Linked DNA regions of Homo sapiens: regions 1, 3, 4, 5 and 6 are each linked to region 2. Evidence: promoter capture Hi-C in 16 types of primary human blood cells and fetal thymus (Javierre and others, 2016). All regions are on one chromosome and are shown on one strand. Each heading gives the region's core, a stretch centred on a gene start or on the middle of the fragment in contact. The rest is flanking DNA. Distances are from core to core; before and after follow the strand shown.

Region 1 (2,700 bases), core at 112-2,611, 630 kb before region 2:
TCCCTGACCACCTGATACTGACCCTTTTCCTTGAGGGGAAGGGTAGGTGGCCATGTCCCTTTCCTGGGACCTTGTCTCCTCCCCAGTCACTGCTCAGGCTCCATGACCCTAACAATTCAGCAAGCACTCACAGAGCACCTGCTGCATACAGCCCGCGCTGGTTCTGGGCAGGGGTGTGGGGTATGGGGTGGGCACCATCCTAAGGGTTGACAGTTAATCCTTGCGGGGGCTCGTAGGAGCCAAGGCCAGCTGGGCAGACGGGGCATGACCTTGTCTTTTTGTTTTTTCTTTTGTTTTTTTGAGATGGAGCCTCGCTCTGTTGCCCAGGCTGGAGGGCTGTGGGACGATCTCAGCTCACTGCAACCTCCACCTCCCGGGTTCAAGCGATTCTCCTGCCTCAGCCTCCTGACTACCTGGGATTACAGGTACTACCACGCCTGGCTTATTTTTGTATTTTCAGTAGAGTCGGGGTTTCACCATGTTGGCCAGGCTGGTCTCAAATTCCTGACCTCAAGTGATCTGCCTGCCTCGGCCTCCCAAAGTGTTGGGATTACAGGTGTGAGCCACTGATCCTGTCCAGACCTTGTCAACCTTGTCAATATCAATATGCATCTATTGGCTGGGCGTGGTGACTCACTCCTATAATCCCAGCACTTTGGGAGGCAGAGGCAGGAGGACTGCTTGAGCCCAGGAGCCTGAGACCAGCCTGGGTAATATAGTGAGACCCCATCTCTATTTAAAGTAAAAAAAAATGCATCTATTGAACATCTCCTTTCCATAGGGCCCCAGATCATTCTACGCCCTCTGCCTCCCCACAACATAGTAGGGGTGATATTAGGGGACACTGTCCCCAAACCCTAGCTCTGCTCAAATTCCAGGCAGGTCCTGTCTGTGCTGCGCTCTCCAGCATGCTGGCTTTTCTGCACTCTCTGCAGAGGAGACTGAGGGGGAGTCAAGGTGGGGCTGGCACCCAGGGCACTGGGGGAAGCTTCAAGTTCTCCCAGCCACCTCCCTGGGCCTCCCCCTCTCCCACCTGCGCTGGGCTCCAGCAGCCTCTGGGGCTGGAAGAGCCATTGGACCTCTCCTTCTTTACCCCTTTGTCTTCCATGGGGGCCAAGCTGCTGCCGCTGCCGGGGCTGCAGGCCTGGGCTGCCCCTTGCGGGTGCCAGGGATCTCTCCCTGCTGGGGGTGGAGGACAGGCCCAGACAGGATGTGCCACAGCCCAGAGGACCTCTGTGTGGCCCTCCAGCCGGCCCCTGTCAAGCCTTCCTCCCTGGCTGGGAGAGTGGGAGCTGCCGAGGCCCTGGCTTCAGGCCCGGCTCTGATGCCAACATTGGGTTGCCCGACTGCCCGCTGCTCAAGCACCCTGTGTCTTGGTGTCCTCAAGGCACTGTTGTGAGGGTCTCAGGAGGAATGTTTGCATTTTCCTAGCCCTGGCCAGGGAGTGGCCCCACGCTCTGGAGGGCCAGGGAGGCCTTCCTGGGGTCCCACTTCTATCTCTGCTGAGATCTGAGCTGTGCCCTCCTGCCCGGCTGGCCCAGCTGGCCCGGCCTGTCCTCAGCATGTGAGGCTTCTCTGGGTTGGGGGCTAGAGGGGGATTCACAGGCAGTAGAGCCTCTAACGAGCAGTAGCAAAGGGGCCTGGGGGGGGGGTCAGTGGCGTGGGGAAACTGAGGCCCAGAGAGGAAGAGGAGCAGGCTCGCGGCCCAAAGCCTGTCAGGGGTGAGGAAGCTTGTGGGGGCTAAATGGTGGTATTGGGGGTTGGAGGCCTTGGTGATTTTAGAGGCAGAAAGAAGAGTAATAAACTCTCTGCTCCTTCAAATTGGGCCTCAAGACTAAGGTCTGGGTACTCTGGAAGTGGGGTTCCCAGGCAGGGTGAGCACTGGCGGTGTGGGCTCTACGGGGAGGCAGAGGGGTGGTGGCACCCCACGACCTGGCCCCCTCCCTAGGGCCCTGGCTTTGCCCCACATTTGCTGCTGGAAGGCGGGGCAGTCCCTTTTGTGAGCCCAGAGTGAGGCCCACCTGGGTAGCCCAGCTGGCCTAGGGGAGGATGGGGCCTGGGAAGGGAGGGGTTGTTAGGAGAGGATGGGGATGGGGAGGGTCTTGGTTTCGTGTCTCTTCGTGTGTGAGTGCCTGCTGGTGCAGTCTTGACTCTGGCGGCTCAGGTGAGCACGGGTTTTACTGGGTCTCTCTCCTCCCCGAAGACAGTCCTGGATTGCCAGGAAGTCCTTCCAGATGTCTAACCTCGTGCTCATGGTGGTCTGACCTTGCTCTCTAGCCTTGGTTTTGAACCTCCCCCCATCCCCGCCCAGCACCTTCACAGGCTGGGCGGGAGCAGTAAAATCAGGGCTCAACCGCTCTCTTCCAGATAGCTCCTGCCATTCCCAGCTGGCACAGTCCCCAGCTGGCACTTTCCGTGAGAGACCACCCACTATCTGAGCAGGAAGTCTTTCCAGCAGTGTGGTCTCATCTGGGAGCTCTGGGCCACATGGAAAACCCAACTCCCTCCCTGTCCCCGTATGCGGGCAGAGAGCCCAGGCCACCCATGCACTTCTCTCCCCTCTCCTGTTCCGCGGGCCCTGGCTGCCCTGGGAAGCTCCACATTCAGACAGGCCTGGTGCAGACGCCGGTGTCCTGGCAGCACCTAAATCATTAGTGCCGCGGAGATTAGGATACTAATCTCCTTGTTGGGTGGAGCGGT
Region 2 (2,700 bases), core at 10-2,509:
GGACCACAGAGCCTGGAAGTAAGACAGGGGTGTTCAATGTTTTGGCTTCCCTGGGCCACATTGAAAGAAGAATTGTCTTGGGCCACACATAAAATACACTAACACTAATGACAGCTGATGAGCAAAAAAAGAAAAAAAATCACAAAAAAATCTCATAATGTTTTAAGAAAGTTTATGAATTTGTGTTGTGCTGCATTCAATGCCTTTCTGGGCCACAGGTTGAACAAGCTTGCTGTAAGATGTTGCTAAATCTCCCCAAGTATGTTTCATAAAGCACTGACCTATAGAGCTAATCTCTGAAAACAAACAAAAAGCAGTCCATGGTCAAGTAAGTTTGGAGAAAAATATATGCTATATCTCTGTATTGAAAAGTCATAGAGCATTTTAGCACATTAAAGGCTCCGAGAGGCCCAACAATGAAGAATTCAGCATTTCCCAAACTTACTTACCAGAAAACACTTTCAAGTCCCTTGGAACCAGTGTTCATGGAACTCAGTCTGGTAAATACTGCATCATTTAGCTTCTGAATGGCCCAATACAACCAGCCTTTTGGTTATAAATAATCTCCATTTATAACACAGTTGGATGGAGCTTAAAGGACACCCATCTTTGTCACCCATGAAGGTCTTCATTCCCACCTGCATGTTCTTACCAAGTTATTGTTCAGAGCATATTTGAAAGGAATGCAGAACAAACGATTTGTTATAGCTCTGTTTGAAAGTGCCTCTTTACACAAAACCAAAATCTATTTCTCTATAGATTCTATCCATTCATCTTCATTCAGTTTATTGGAGCCACAAATAATAAATCTAAAATGTTATATCACTTTTTCAGCCTGAGGGCCTAAAGGATCACATAGAACCTGTAGTCACTGGTAGAACAGCAAACAAAAAGCTTACTTGTCCTCTTCATCTGAAAAGTAAACAAAAGAAGTGGGAAACGTTTGCAGATGCCTGGCATACCGAGCCATTATTAGTGAGGGTATAATGATTAGAAGATAATGGCCCGGTACCTTTGAAGACTGGAATGAAGATTTCTGTGTAGTGACACACTGGCAATGTGAATAGTCCTAATTTGACAACAAAACAACCTAAATCTCTTTTATGAGGTGAGCAGTGTATCTTAGGTAATAAACACTTAAGTAATTAGGCATTTTTTATGGAAATAACTATAAACTGAAACATGGGGGAAAAACCCTCAGTAATAGGCTGACGCCCAGGGAGATGGGTATATAAGAGCCAGAGCAGAAGAGAGGAGCATCGAGACACCAACAGACTTCTCTCAACTCAACAAAAACCCACCTCCCATTGCCATGTATTGCTGTGCTCTCCGCTCCTGCAGCGTCCCCACCGGCCCTGCCACCACCTTCTGCTCATTTGATAAAAGCTGCCGCTGTGGAGTCTGCCTACCCAGCACCTGCCCACATGAGATCAGCCTCCTTCAGCCCATCTGCTGTGACACCTGCCCCCCACCCTGCTGCAAGCCTGATACCTATGTGCCAACTTGCTGGCTGCTCAACAACTGTCACCCGACTCCCGGACTGAGTGGGATCAACCTGACCACCTATGTTCAGCCTGGCTGTGAGAGTCCCTGTGAGCCCCGCTGTTAACCAGCCGAGTCTGCACAGGTTCCGTGAGGTGGCTGCCCAATGTCCTCTGCACCATCTGGGCTTCAGCACTCACTACTGCCTACATCAAGGCTAAGGCCATCCCAATCCCCGGGGCCAAGTCTTGATGAATCTTCTTAATTATTTGCACATTTGGGTACCATTGGAGACCTCCCTTCTGTCTTTTAGGCTATTTCATCACTCTTTGAGAAATAACCATTTTGACCATTTGTTAATAAACTTTATTCTGGCTTAGCAAATATGACCTTGTGATTATTTATTTTCATGTCTCCCATTAGGGAAAGTGGAATGCCTACCTAAACCTGAACAGTAGGTTATCACACTATCCAAGATTTACCCCAACAGAATAAGAGCTCTCATAGTGGAATTTATCGAAAAAATAGATACTGGTTATTTGTGATAAGTTAAAAAGTAAAAAATGTGGTAGTTCATTTTATAGAAGCTTTTTATTTAACAGATATTTATTTAATAGATATTATTGGAAGACATCCACTGTGCAAGCACTATGCTAGAGTCTAGAGATTAACAGAATGTTTTAAAAATACTTGATTTTAGTTTCCATTGATTCTGACATTGATTTTTCTTTCTTCCTTAATTGACTAAATGAATTGATCACTGTGCTGGTGTGTATAAATAATTTGATTATCCTAGTCCTCACAGTCATCTGAAATTCTGAGCTCAAAATGCAAAGCAATTTTGAGAAGTGTATATATCCATTTCTTCATATATGCTGTCTTCCAAAACAATCCATTTTTAATTAATGTTAGCATTTATCGAGTATTCATTGATTCCTCAAATGGGGCTTACATTGGTTTACATTAGTCATGACTATGATTAGAAGTTTGCTAGTCTAAGTGACATATAATATCATGACATTGAAATATGCTTAAAATATCAGACTACAGTGTAGTATTTTCTATACACCAGAAATAGTCACACAATTCTGAGAGCAAAAACACACAGTTTCTATTAGAACAAAACTACTACGATAACCACTAATTCATGTCCTTATTTATCTTAGAAAAATCTAGGTGCAATTAGGTCTTTGCAAAAAATAAAGGTATTGTGATTAT
Region 3 (2,700 bases), core at 104-2,603, 650 kb before region 2:
TCCCTGTGTCTCTCATATCCCGAGACGCAGACCCTGTCAGGGAAGGGGCATGTGGCAGCGGGGCAGGCATGCCTGTGCCAGGCTGGGGCCACCAAGCACTGGTGGCAGCATAGACCTTGGGGTCTCTCTGTGCACAGCAGGGCCACCAGCAGGGCCAGGGCAAAGGTCTTCATGGTGTGGGAACTGCTCATTCTCGCTCTCTCTGGCCGGGCTGCAAGGCAAGTGGTCCCTTCCCCTGCCCCGCCATCTTTTGGCCTCACCTTCCTCCCTCCCCATGGAAGGCCCACACTCCTGTGTTCCTTGTGGCACTGCCTGGTCACAATCTCAAGTCCTCTTCCTTTCTTCCCTACCTGCACCCCCCACCCCCTAATTCAAGCCTCGGCGTCTCCACCCTCCCCAAGCCATCCCTGCCCCATCAACGAGGGCCAGCTCTATGCCCCTGATGACCTGCCAGCCTCCTGAGCCAGGCTGTGCACTCTCTGACTGCCAGGCCAGCCTCTGTCCTGCTTCCCCTACTTCCTGCTCAGAGCCGGTCATGCTGAGGCTGCGATGGAGACCTGGGAGCAGGAGGCAGCAGGGGATTCCTTGGGCTGTGGCTCTCATCATTGCTGAGAGAGGGAGAAAGGGCCCGGCCATTCCTGACCACAGCCCTGGGCTCCTGCACTCAGCCGGGCACTCACTGCATGCCAGCCTCAGACAGGGCAGTAGGGCCGCCTGGATGTGTACTGAGCCCTTCCAGCCAGGGCTTCAAGGCCGGGTCACAACTCCCGGCTCAGTGCCCAACTCCTCAACCCCTCAGCATCCACCTGCCCAGCTCATGACAGGGAGGACAAAACAAAGGAGGCCCCTGTGGGACTACACAGGCCAGCTCCTGACACTATATAGGTGGGGAAACTGGGGCCCAGAGAGGGGCGGTGACTTGTCCAAATTCATGGGCCCAGAGCTGGGCTCCTAGGCCTCTCTCCCGGGCGGCCTGAGTTAGGCCGTGGTGCCGTCAGTCCCGGAAGGTTGGGACACCCACGGCAGTACCTGACTTGCCGGGGCCCAGCCTCCAGCCCACAGCCCTGCTTTGAGCAGCAAGGGAGGCTGCCCCGCCCCCAGCGTCTCCTCCTGCCTGACTGAGTTTCCCAGAGCCAGCAGAAAGGCAGGGCCGATGCAGGTCTGAATCCGCCCAGGGATCTGGCAGTCCCAGCTGGCTTGCCCTGCCCTCGAGCCCTGGGAGCGGGAAGTGAGCCTCCCCACCTCAAATCCTCCACCTTCCCTGCCACCCACACCTTCAGCCCGGGGCCCAAACATGGCAGGGAGCCAGGCCCCTCACCTCCCTCCTTGGTAACCGAGGCAAACACCCAACACTGGAGACTGTTTGTCCTGCCAACGCTGCACCCCAACCTGAGCCCAGACGCCCTGCCGCAGTTGGGAGAAGCCTGGCTGGGGGAGGGGACGTGGCAGGGGCAGCCAGAACCTGTGGGCTTGGGGACCCTTCCCCTCCACTCCAGTTCCCCAGGAGCTTCTGAGTGAGCACAGGGCAGCGGGGCTGTTGTCTCAGCACCTTTGACTGTGAGGCCCCCAACCTCAGCCTCTGCTCCACCCCTAAGACTGTGCGCCCGGAAGGTGGAGAAGGGCTGGCTGGGGTGAGAGGGTCTGTGCTTGAACTACAGCAGAGAAAGAGAGCAGAGGGAGAAAGTTCTCTCTGGCCAGCCCAGCTGTGGGAGGGCTCAGGGAGGGAGGCCAGTGGGCCCTTTCTTTGCAGGCAGGGAGGGATGGGAGATTCTACCAGCGCCAGACCTGGGGGGCTCTGCCTCCTGATCCCCAGGGTCTGGGTGGGCACCGTGAGGCACTCCAGCGTCGCGTTTGGGGGCTGGCTGGGTGGGCAAGGAGGTGGATGTCAGGGCCTGGGGAGGCTGGGGTAAGGTGGCGCCAGGAGGGGACGGGCAGTTTTTCTGGCCTTCACTGGCCTGTGGTTTCCGCAGTGCAGGGCATGGGACTGTGGGGCGATGGAGCAAGGAGGATGGAGTTTCTGTCCCTGGGAAGCCTCTTGTCTGAGGGGAGACATGCCCCGAGCCTTCAGGGACCGCCTAGTCGGAGGGGGAGACACAGCCCTTGTCCTGGGGAGTTTGGAATAACCGTATTGGGGCCAGGGACAGAGGATGATGGAGTCACCCTGCTCTGCATGGAGCACGGGACCACCCGGCCTCACGGGGCTGGGCAGACGCTTCTGTTTCTTCTGCATGGAGCACGGGATCACCTGGCCTCATGGGGTTAGGCAGACGCTTCTGTTTCTTAGGAAGAGGTCTGTTTGCTTCTCAAATGCTTCCCGGGAACCTCCTCCACCACTGCAGCCCTGCACTGTGGGCAGGAATGTCACTAGCCCCCTTTTACGGATGAGGAAACTGAGGCTCAGGCATCTGGGAAAATGTGCTGTGGGCAGCCCCCCCGGACAGAGCTGTGCTGGCACCCTCCAGACAGTGCAGGAGAAGGGCAGGTCCCACAGAGTCCCTGCTGTTCCCCCAAGTCCTGAGGCCAGGGGGTGCTGTCTCTACTCTCAGTCCCCTGCCAGGACCTGTCCCCTGGTTCAATCCCAGGCAGGCCAGCGGGGAGGGTGGGGTGGGAGACTTGGTTCTGCTGAGGCTGCAGCTTCCCTGGCCCACCTAGGCTGAGTCAGGGCTGGGCAGGAGCCGAGGGCAGCAGCTTTCCCAGGGC
Region 4 (2,700 bases), core at 185-2,684, 550 kb before region 2:
ATTTGTGGATATGGGAGCAGGCAGGTCATCAGTGTCTCTGGGTCAAAGGTGGCTCTAGCAAGACACCTGAGCAGTGAGAGTCTGTGATCTCTTTTCTAGCGCTCCGCTGTTAATATGCAACTGTTTACTCTTCTCTGGTTCTTTTTCTGCTACCTGCTGTCTTCCTCATCTACCATTTTACATATCTTTTTATTTATTTTATTTATTATTATTATTATTTTTTGAGACGGAGTCTCACTCTGTCGTCCAGGCTGAAATGCAGTGGCACGATCTCAGCTCAATCCAACCTCTACCTCCCGGGTTCAAGCGATTTTCTGCCTCAGTCTCCTGAGTAGCTGGAACTACAGGCACCTGCCACCACGCTGAGCTAATTTTTGTATTTTTAGTAAAGACGGGGGTTTCACCATGTTGGCCAGACTGGTCTTGAACTCTTGATCTCAGGTGATCCACTTGCCTCGGCCTCCCAAAGTGCTGGGATTACAGGTGTGAGCCACAAGGCCTGGCCCATTTTATGTATCTTTTCTCTACCTCAATTTGGGAAATTCTCCACCTTAAGTGTGAAGCTCCCCAAGGGAGAGGTCAGAAACTTGCTTTTCCGAGCTCACCTGCATCTAGGGCATGGGCCCCTGACAGCCCTGCCACTCAGGTGCGCCCGCACAAGACGTTTTTTTTTTTTTTTTAACCATGGCACCCCATTGGAGTGAAGGACTTTGATTTTGATTTAAAGGAGGTGCTGAGTGGAATTTTTTATGGCAGGAACAAGGTTGGGCAGAGATATGTGATTTTTTGAGGAAGCAATAGCAGCGGCTCTGGCAAAGACATGCAGTGCCCATCATCCATAGTTTGAGCTTCAATTTTGGTGGCCAGAAGTGACAGCAGTGGTGTGTTCCTAGAGCAATCCTTGAGTGTGATTTGGGGAATTTTTCTGTTTGCATACCCTCCAAGTTTGATTCTCTGCACATCCTGGAAAAGATGCCCAGTAGTTGCTCATTATTTCACAGGGAATACATTCAAAGATCCTGACTGGATGCCCAAAACTGTGGATAGCACCTAAATCTATCTACACTATGCTTTTTCCTACACATTCATACTTAAGATACAGTTTACTTTATAAATTAGGCAGACCAAGAGATTAACAACAATAACTAATAAAATAGAATCGTTATAACAATATACTGTAATAAAAATTATTTGAATGTGGTCTCTCTCTTTCAAAATATCTTATCATACTGTAGATCTTAGCAACCTCAGCGTATGGTTTTTTTCTTTCCGTAGTAAGTTTTGAACTGTCATCTTTTCTCTTAAAGAAAGCATTTTGCTGGCTGGGCGCGGTGGCTCATGCCTGTGATCCCAGCACTTTGGGAGGCCAAGGCTGGAGGATCACCTGAGGTCAGGAGTTTGAGACCAGCCTGACCAGTATGGAGAAACACTGTCTCTTCCAAAAATACAAAATTAGCCAGGCATGGTGGCGCATGCCTGTAATCTCAGGTACTTGGGAGGCTGAGGCAGGAGAATCGCTTGAACCCGGGAGGCAGAGGTTGAGGTAAACCGAGATCACGCCATTGTGCTCCAGCCTGGGAAACAAGAGCAAAACTCCTTTTAAGAAAAAAAAAAAAGCACTTTGTGGCTTCCCTTTGGCAAATCTGAATTATCAGCATCACTGCTCTTGCACTTTGGGGTCGTAATTAAGTAAAATAAGGGAACACAAGCACGGCAATACTGCAACAGTTGATCTGACAACTGAGACAGCTACTAAGCGACGACTAGTGGGTGGGTGGTGCATAGAGCATGGAGAGCTGGACAAAGGGATGATTCCTGTCCTGGGCTGGACAGAGTGGGGCAGTGTGAGATTTCATCATGCTCTTCAGGGCAGCACACTTCAAAACTGACAAATTGTTTATTTCTGGAATTTTCCATTTAATATTTTTGGATGACAGTTGACCACAGGTAACTGAAGCTGTGGAAAGCGAAACCATGGATAAGGGGAATGACCGTGTTGCTTTCTCTGCAGGTGAAAGCATATTTATTCTGGTACTCTTTGTTTATTGGGATAAAGAAAAAAGAATTTCCCACAGCAGGTGCCAGGGTCAATGGTGATCTGCTTTAGAAAAGGGACACAATCTGGATCAACGACTGCTGTTGGAACAACCATGTGATAAATTGTAAAATAATTCATGGCTATTCTCTAACATCTGTTCATGTTCTGCACAGAAAAACTAGGCAAGTTAACCCTAAATTTATCATTTTTTTTTTGAGACAGGGTCTCTCTCTGTTGCCCAGGCCGGTGGGCAGTGGTACAATCACAGTTCACTGAAGCCTTGACCTCCCAGGTTCAAGCAATCCTCCTACCTCAGGCTCCCAAGTAGCTGGGACTACAAGCGTGTGCCACCACGCCAGACTAATTTTTGAGGTTTTTTTTTTTTTTTTTTTTTTTTTTAAACTAGAGACAGGGATCTCACTCTATTGCCAGGGCTGATCTTACATTCCTGTGTTCTCTCCCCATCTTGCCCTTCCAAAGTGCAGGGATTACAGGCATGAGCCACCACTCCTGGCCCATCAAATCTTTCATGTGGCACTAATCTCTGTCATTCCCTTAGAGATGTAGTGTTGCTGGTCCTTTTTCTAAACCACGTAATCCTTACTGGTAAGGATCAGGATCCTTTTACTGACTATGTCTAGTCCACTCCAGACACTGGGAAA
Region 5 (2,700 bases), core at 75-2,574, 600 kb before region 2:
TGAGCACCCTAGGAAACACCTGCTGCCCCATGGCCATTGCCATGTTTAGATCTTCTTCCTCTCTCCCTAGACCTGGGCACAGCCTAACTGGGTCCCCTTTGAGAGTCAATCTCATCCACATTAAATTTCCACTGAATGATTTCCACCAGAATGTGGTCAAGATCAAGAACAAGGGTGAGATCAGGACCCCCCTGCTTAACAGCCTGCGATGGATCCCATTCCCCTGCAGCACTCAGCCTTCAGTCTCAACTCAGCTTGGTGTCCTCCTGCCCCTCCCAGCTCCAAACCCCTGAGTCACCCCTACCTGACTGAGATATGGCCCATACCTCTCAGTTGCCGTTCCTTCTTCCTGGATGCCTTCCATGTTTTAACTATTTAAATTAAAAAAATGTTATGTATGTACAACATCATAAGACTTTTTTTTTTTTAGACGGAGTCTTGCTCTGTCGCCCAGGCTGGAGTGCAGTGGCGTGATCTCGGTTCACTGCAAGCTTCACCTCAAGGGTTCATGCCATTCTTCTGCCTCAGCCTCCTGAGTAGCTGAGACTACAGTCACCTGCCACCATGCCTGGCTAATTGTTTTTTGTATTTTTAGTAGAGACAGGGTTTCACCTTATTAGCCAGGATGGTCTCGATCTCCTGACCTCGTGATCTGCCTGTCTTGGCCTCCCAAAGTGTTGGGATTACAGGCGTGAGCCATGGCGCCCAGCCAAGACTTTTTTTTTTTTTTTTTTTATTCTTTAAGTTCTAGGGTACATGTGCACAATGTGCAGGTTTGTTACATAGGTATACAAGTGCCATGTTGGTTTGCTGCACCCATCAACTCATCATTTACATTAGGTATTTCTCCTAATGCTATCCCCCCACAGCCCCCCACCCCCGACAGGCCCCGATGTGTGATGTTCCCCACCCTGTGCCCATGTGTTCTCATTGTTCAACTCCCACCTATGAGTGAGAACATGTGATGTTTGGGTTTCTGTCCTTGTGATAGTTTGCTTAGAATGATGGTTTCCAGCTTCATCCATGTCCCTGCAAAGGACATGAACTCACCCTTTTTTATGGCTGCATAGTATTCCAATGTGTATATGTGCCACATTTTCTTAATCCAGTCTATCATTGATGGACATTTGGGTTGGTTCCAAGTCTTTGCTATTGTGAATAAGACTTTCTTTCTTCTTTTTTTTTTTTTTAATGAAAAAGCCATCCCCAGACTGGATATCACAGCTCTGTTCCCGCCTCCCCCTTTCAACTTCAGCTGTTTCTTTTGGGATTTGTCTCCTTACTTCTAAATAACAGGCTTTACCTTGTTACTGTTTGATTTTTGTGTTTCAGTTTTTAATCGCTTGACTTCTGGCTGTGAAGGATGAGGATGTAGATCTGTTATACAGCATTGTGCCTGCCCACTTCTTTTTTAAATATCTTCTTCCCACCTTCTCAATATATTCATATTTTTGTTAGATAAATGTTTACATTATTAAGACTATTTAAATGTTATTCATAGTCAAACCATATATTATACTATGTTACATTTTATGCTATATTAAATTTCCTTGGAATAAATATCTCCTTTTCAATTTGCCTAAACTTTCTATGTATTGATCATTAATTTGTTTCCTGATTCACTGCTGGAAGTATAAATCTCCTCAGTATTTTAGAACCCTGGGTGTTCTATCAATTTCATCCTCATGAAGATGTGTCTCCTAGGGCCTTCTGTCCTGCTCTTGTCTGTTCTGGGTGCTGTCTGGGTCTTCTGCTCAGCTGTGATCCTGGAATCTCTCTTCACCATCATCCTGAAATTCCTTCTTTTTCCTGTGTTGCATTCCTTGTTTTCTGGATCCAATGTCTTCCTCCTTCCTGTTTTTATTTTTCCCTTTGTTTTAGTGAAGCACATCCTCAAGTAGTTTCCTGGAAAGGGAGTTATCGGGGTTAAATTTTTTGAGACCATTTGTGTCAAAAAGATCTTCAGTTTATCTTCACTCTTGACTGATAGTTTGGCTGGGTATAGAATTCTAGCTTGGAAATCATTTGCACTCAGCGTCTGAAGGTACAGTTTCACTGTTTCTTGGCTTCTGGTGTTGCTGTTGAGAAGTCTTATGCCACGTTGACTCGAGATCATTTCTTATTATCCTGTTCCCACTCTCCTCCCTAGAAGCTTTTCAGTTCTTCTCTTTCTCTCCAGCAGGCTGAAATACCATGTGTTGAATTGATGCAGCTGTAACTTCATCCACCGGCTGGACTCTAGCAGAAACTTCTAATGTGGGAGCTCATGTTGTTCAATTCTGGCAAATTTTCGTGTTTCATGATTTCCTCCCTCCATTTTCTCTCTTTCTGAAATGGCTCTTTTTCCTGGGTATTCTGTTTTATTTTCCATCTTGTCTTTTCTTTGTTGTTGTTGTTGCTGTTTTCTGAGAAATTCTTTAACTTTGACCTCTAACTCCATTATTCAGAGTTTTAAAAAATCTGCTGTATTTGGCCGGGCACAGCAACTCATGCCTGTAATCCCAGCAGTTTTGGAGGCCAAGGTGGTTGGATTGCTTGAGCCCAGGAGTTCGAGACCAGCCTGGGCAACATAGTGAGACCCTGTCTCTACAAAACATACAAAAATTAGCTGGATGTGGTGGCTTGTGCCTGTAGTCCCAGCTGCTAGGGAATCTGAGGTGGGCGGATCACTTGAGACTGGGAAGTCGAGGCTGCAGTGAG
Region 6 (2,700 bases), core at 150-2,649, 530 kb before region 2:
CCACATACTCGAACAGAGTTAGGCATAGAGGAAGAGGCCAATACATTTAGCCTGTTTTTATAAGATTTCTTTTTTACTGGAACTTCCCACTATCCGCCACCTCCATGTCCTTACTCTAGGCACCATTTACTGTGGCTCACCCTGGGGCTGTGAAGGGCCCCCTCCTCCAGGGCGCCCTCCCTGCTTACCCAGGCCTTGATCCCTCACTCAGGGTGCCCTCCATCTGAGCTCCAGCAGCCCCGGGTCTATGTCCCTCCTCTGACCCTGGCCTGCCTCCTGCCTTTGTCAGGAGCCTACAGTGTTTACCTCTTTCTCTTCCCCGAGCTCAGGTCGTCCCCTGGGGACAGACATCCTGGCTCCAGGGCACCTGCCTGCTGGTTTCTGCTGAGCAGGACACCAGCTGTGGGACTTTAGGCAGGCTGAGGCCCCACTCTCTCTCAGTTTTCTGACCTATATAAACTGCTGGAGGTAGGCTGAAGCACGTGTTTGGGCTTTAAAAGAGGGAGAATCTTTGCTGAAGCAAAATCTCACAGAAAGCTGAGTATATAAAACCAGTGTGAATGCATGTGTGAGAAGGCCTGGGAGTGTGTGAGTGTATGTGTGAGCATGTGTATGCATGTGTGTGCATGTGTGAGTAGGTGTGAATACTGTGTGAGGTGTGTAAGTGTGTGTGAGTGTGGGTGGTCACAGCAGATCCGCTCAGCTCCCACCTCTCTGCTTAGGGCTTAGCAGGCGAGGCTTGAAGATCTCTGGGCTAGAAGATTTCTATGCCCCCATCCTACAAGTGTAGGAGTTTTGTCTAAATCATCTTGCTGGGCTTTTAGATGCTTATTATGTTTCTTTTTCTTTTTCTTTTTTTTTTTGAGACAGAGTCTTGCTCTGTTGCCCAGGCTGGAGTGCAGTGGCTCTATCTCGGCTCACTGCAAGCTCTGCTTCCCAGGCTCAAGCAATTCTTCCTGCCTCAGCCTCCCTAGTAGCTGGGATTACAGGCACTCACCACCATGCCCAGCTAATTTTTGTAGTTTTAGTAGAGATGGGGTTTCGCCATGTTGGTCAGGCTGGTCTTGAACTCCCGACCTCAGGTGATCCACCTGCCTTGGCCTCCCAAAGTGCTGGGATTACAGGTGTGAGCCACTGTGCACGGCCAAGAAGATGCTTACTATGTTTCTTAGCAGTCAAGGTGAGGATAAGGATGAGGTAACATGGACATGGCAGGAATGGGAAACTTGGGGTTCGTGAAGCCTCCTCTCTTCTCCCCATGCTCCAGCCCTTTCTTCTGAAGCCCCAGACATGGATATCCCTGTTGGGATGTGTTTGTTCGGTTTCTGTGTACCAGGTCCTCATTGTATGTTTACTCAGCGAGGACAGATATCTCTGGTGGATCTTCTCATCCCCACAGGCTCCAGCCCTAATCCCAGGCAAGGACTTTGGAGGAAGCACTTTCCTCTCCAACTCCAGCACATTCCACTGGAGGGGGAAGGGTCTTGGCAGGACTGAGCCAGGGGAGGGCAGAAGATGCTTCCTGGCACTGTGGTTCCTTGGTGCATCCCCCGTGCCTCCCTGGTGCTGGCACGGCTGGTAGGCCTTGGGCTGGTAATTGGGCAGCCTGCTGAGGGCTGATGCTGGCACTGGGTAGTTCCTGCCTGGAATGCACGTGAGATGCCTAAGGGAGCCGGTGAGGCTTTGTCTTCTGTTAATACTCTGTGTGTGTGTCTTTGAGGTGGGATAGTGTTCCTTTTCAACTGACTTCAAAAAGCGCTTCAGATACCAGGCCCCTCTCATGGGATCAGGCGTCAGCTGCTCTTCCTTGGGGCAAAGGGGATCTCCCCCGTTCTCCCTCATCTCCCCCTTAGTCCCCAGGCCTGGGCATTCCTGGTATTCCCAGCTCCTGGCAGCCCATCTCGCTATGTGATTCTCTGTGGTTTCTGCCTGATGAATGTTTATCCTGCAGCCGGTTGGAGCCGGGATGAGCAGGGCCTCAGCATCCTGTCTCCAGAGCAGCTCTGAAGCTCCTTCCAGCTGCTGTTAGGAATGCCCCTTCTGCCCCAACCCCCTGCTCACCTGGTCCAGAAACTCACTAACCTGACCACCCCTCCCCCAAGTCTGCAAGGCCCCGCTTGCCAGCCTAAAGCCAGTGGAGCCTGGAATGAGTCAGAATTGAAAATAATAAGCACTCCCCTCAACCCATGCTAGAGGTGAGACATGCTCACTGCTGCTTTTTTGAAAATGTAGAAAACACAGATCTTCATTAGAAATCATCTGTCTCTTGGCTGGGCGCAGTGGCTCACGCCAGTAATCCCAGCAGTTTGGAAGGCTGAGGTGGGTGGATCACTTGAGGTCAGGAGTTTGAGACCAGCCTGGCCAACATGGTGAAACGCTGCCTCTACTAACAATATAAAAATTAGCCAGGTGTGATGGCAGGCACCTGTAATCCCAGCTATTCAGGAGGCTGAGGCAGGAGAATCACTTGAACCCAAGAGGCAGAAGTTGCACTGAGCCAAGATTGCGCCACTGCATTCCAGCTTGGGTGATGGAGTAAGACTCTGTCTCAAAAAAAAAAAAGAAAAAAAAAAAAAAAAAAAAGAAAGTCGCCTCTTTCATACCAACCCCTAACTGTGGGCTCCGTCTGTGAAGGCAGGGCCCAGGTGGACACAGCCCTTGTCCTTCCCCTCCCTCAGCAGGCATCAGCGCTGGCAGAGA

The links. Contacts are between HindIII fragments. The CHiCAGO score rates a contact against its expected background, and 5 or more counts as called.
Region 1: a contact is called between a fragment that was not itself captured here and the fragment with the promoter of KRTAP3-1 in region 2, in 6 of 17 cell types (non-activated CD4 T cells, total CD8 T cells, naive CD4 T cells and 3 more). The highest score is 6.8, in non-activated CD4 T cells.
Region 3: a contact is called between a fragment that was not itself captured here and the fragment with the promoter of KRTAP3-1 in region 2, in 4 of 17 cell types (total CD4 T cells, total CD8 T cells, naive CD4 T cells and 1 more). The highest score is 6.9, in total CD4 T cells.
Region 4: a fragment that was not itself captured here is called in contact with the fragment with the promoter of KRTAP3-1 in region 2 in 9 of 17 cell types (naive CD8 T cells, total CD4 T cells, naive CD4 T cells and 6 more); the score reaches 9.8 in naive CD8 T cells.
Region 5: a fragment that was not itself captured here is called in contact with the fragment with the promoter of KRTAP3-1 in region 2 in 3 of 17 cell types (total CD4 T cells, total CD8 T cells and naive CD4 T cells); the score reaches 5.5 in total CD4 T cells.
Region 6: a contact is called between a fragment that was not itself captured here and the fragment with the promoter of KRTAP3-1 in region 2, in 15 of 17 cell types (naive CD4 T cells, total CD8 T cells, total CD4 T cells and 12 more). The highest score is 14.9, in naive CD4 T cells.

The regions. Positions count from the first base shown.
Region 1 is chr17:41,635,442-41,638,141 of GRCh38, reverse strand. It overlaps the pseudogene KRT42P. Among named protein-coding and RNA genes, the nearest start is that of KRT17, 12 kb to the right of the region's middle. The HindIII fragment of the contact is 742 bases long and covers 991-1,732 here.
Region 2 is chr17:41,007,687-41,010,386 of GRCh38, reverse strand. It overlaps KRTAP3-1 (keratin associated protein 3-1), which reads left to right and starts at 1,259. Exons shown (of 1, transcript NM_031958.2): 1 at 1,259-1,866. The coding sequence starts at 1,313. The coding sequence ends at 1,609. The HindIII fragment of the contact is 1,175 bases long and covers 897-2,071 here.
Region 3 is chr17:41,654,337-41,657,036 of GRCh38, reverse strand. It overlaps LOC124904004 (a long non-coding RNA gene), which reads left to right and starts at 1,903. Exons shown (of 2, transcript XR_007065756.1): 1 at 1,903-2,700. RefSeq lists an enhancer at 2,092-2,700. The HindIII fragment of the contact is 2,956 bases long and covers 1-2,700 here.
Region 4 is chr17:41,560,850-41,563,549 of GRCh38, reverse strand. No RefSeq gene overlaps it. Among named protein-coding and RNA genes, the nearest start is that of LINC00974, 7.7 kb to the right of the region's middle. The HindIII fragment of the contact is 7,476 bases long and covers 1-2,700 here.
Region 5 is chr17:41,606,430-41,609,129 of GRCh38, reverse strand. No RefSeq gene overlaps it. Among named protein-coding and RNA genes, the nearest start is that of KRT16, 5.0 kb to the left of the region's middle. The HindIII fragment of the contact is 1,661 bases long and covers 494-2,154 here.
Region 6 is chr17:41,538,119-41,540,818 of GRCh38, reverse strand. No RefSeq gene overlaps it. Among named protein-coding and RNA genes, the nearest start is that of KRT19, 11 kb to the right of the region's middle. RefSeq lists an enhancer at 1,026-1,646. The HindIII fragment of the contact is 5,266 bases long and covers 1-2,700 here.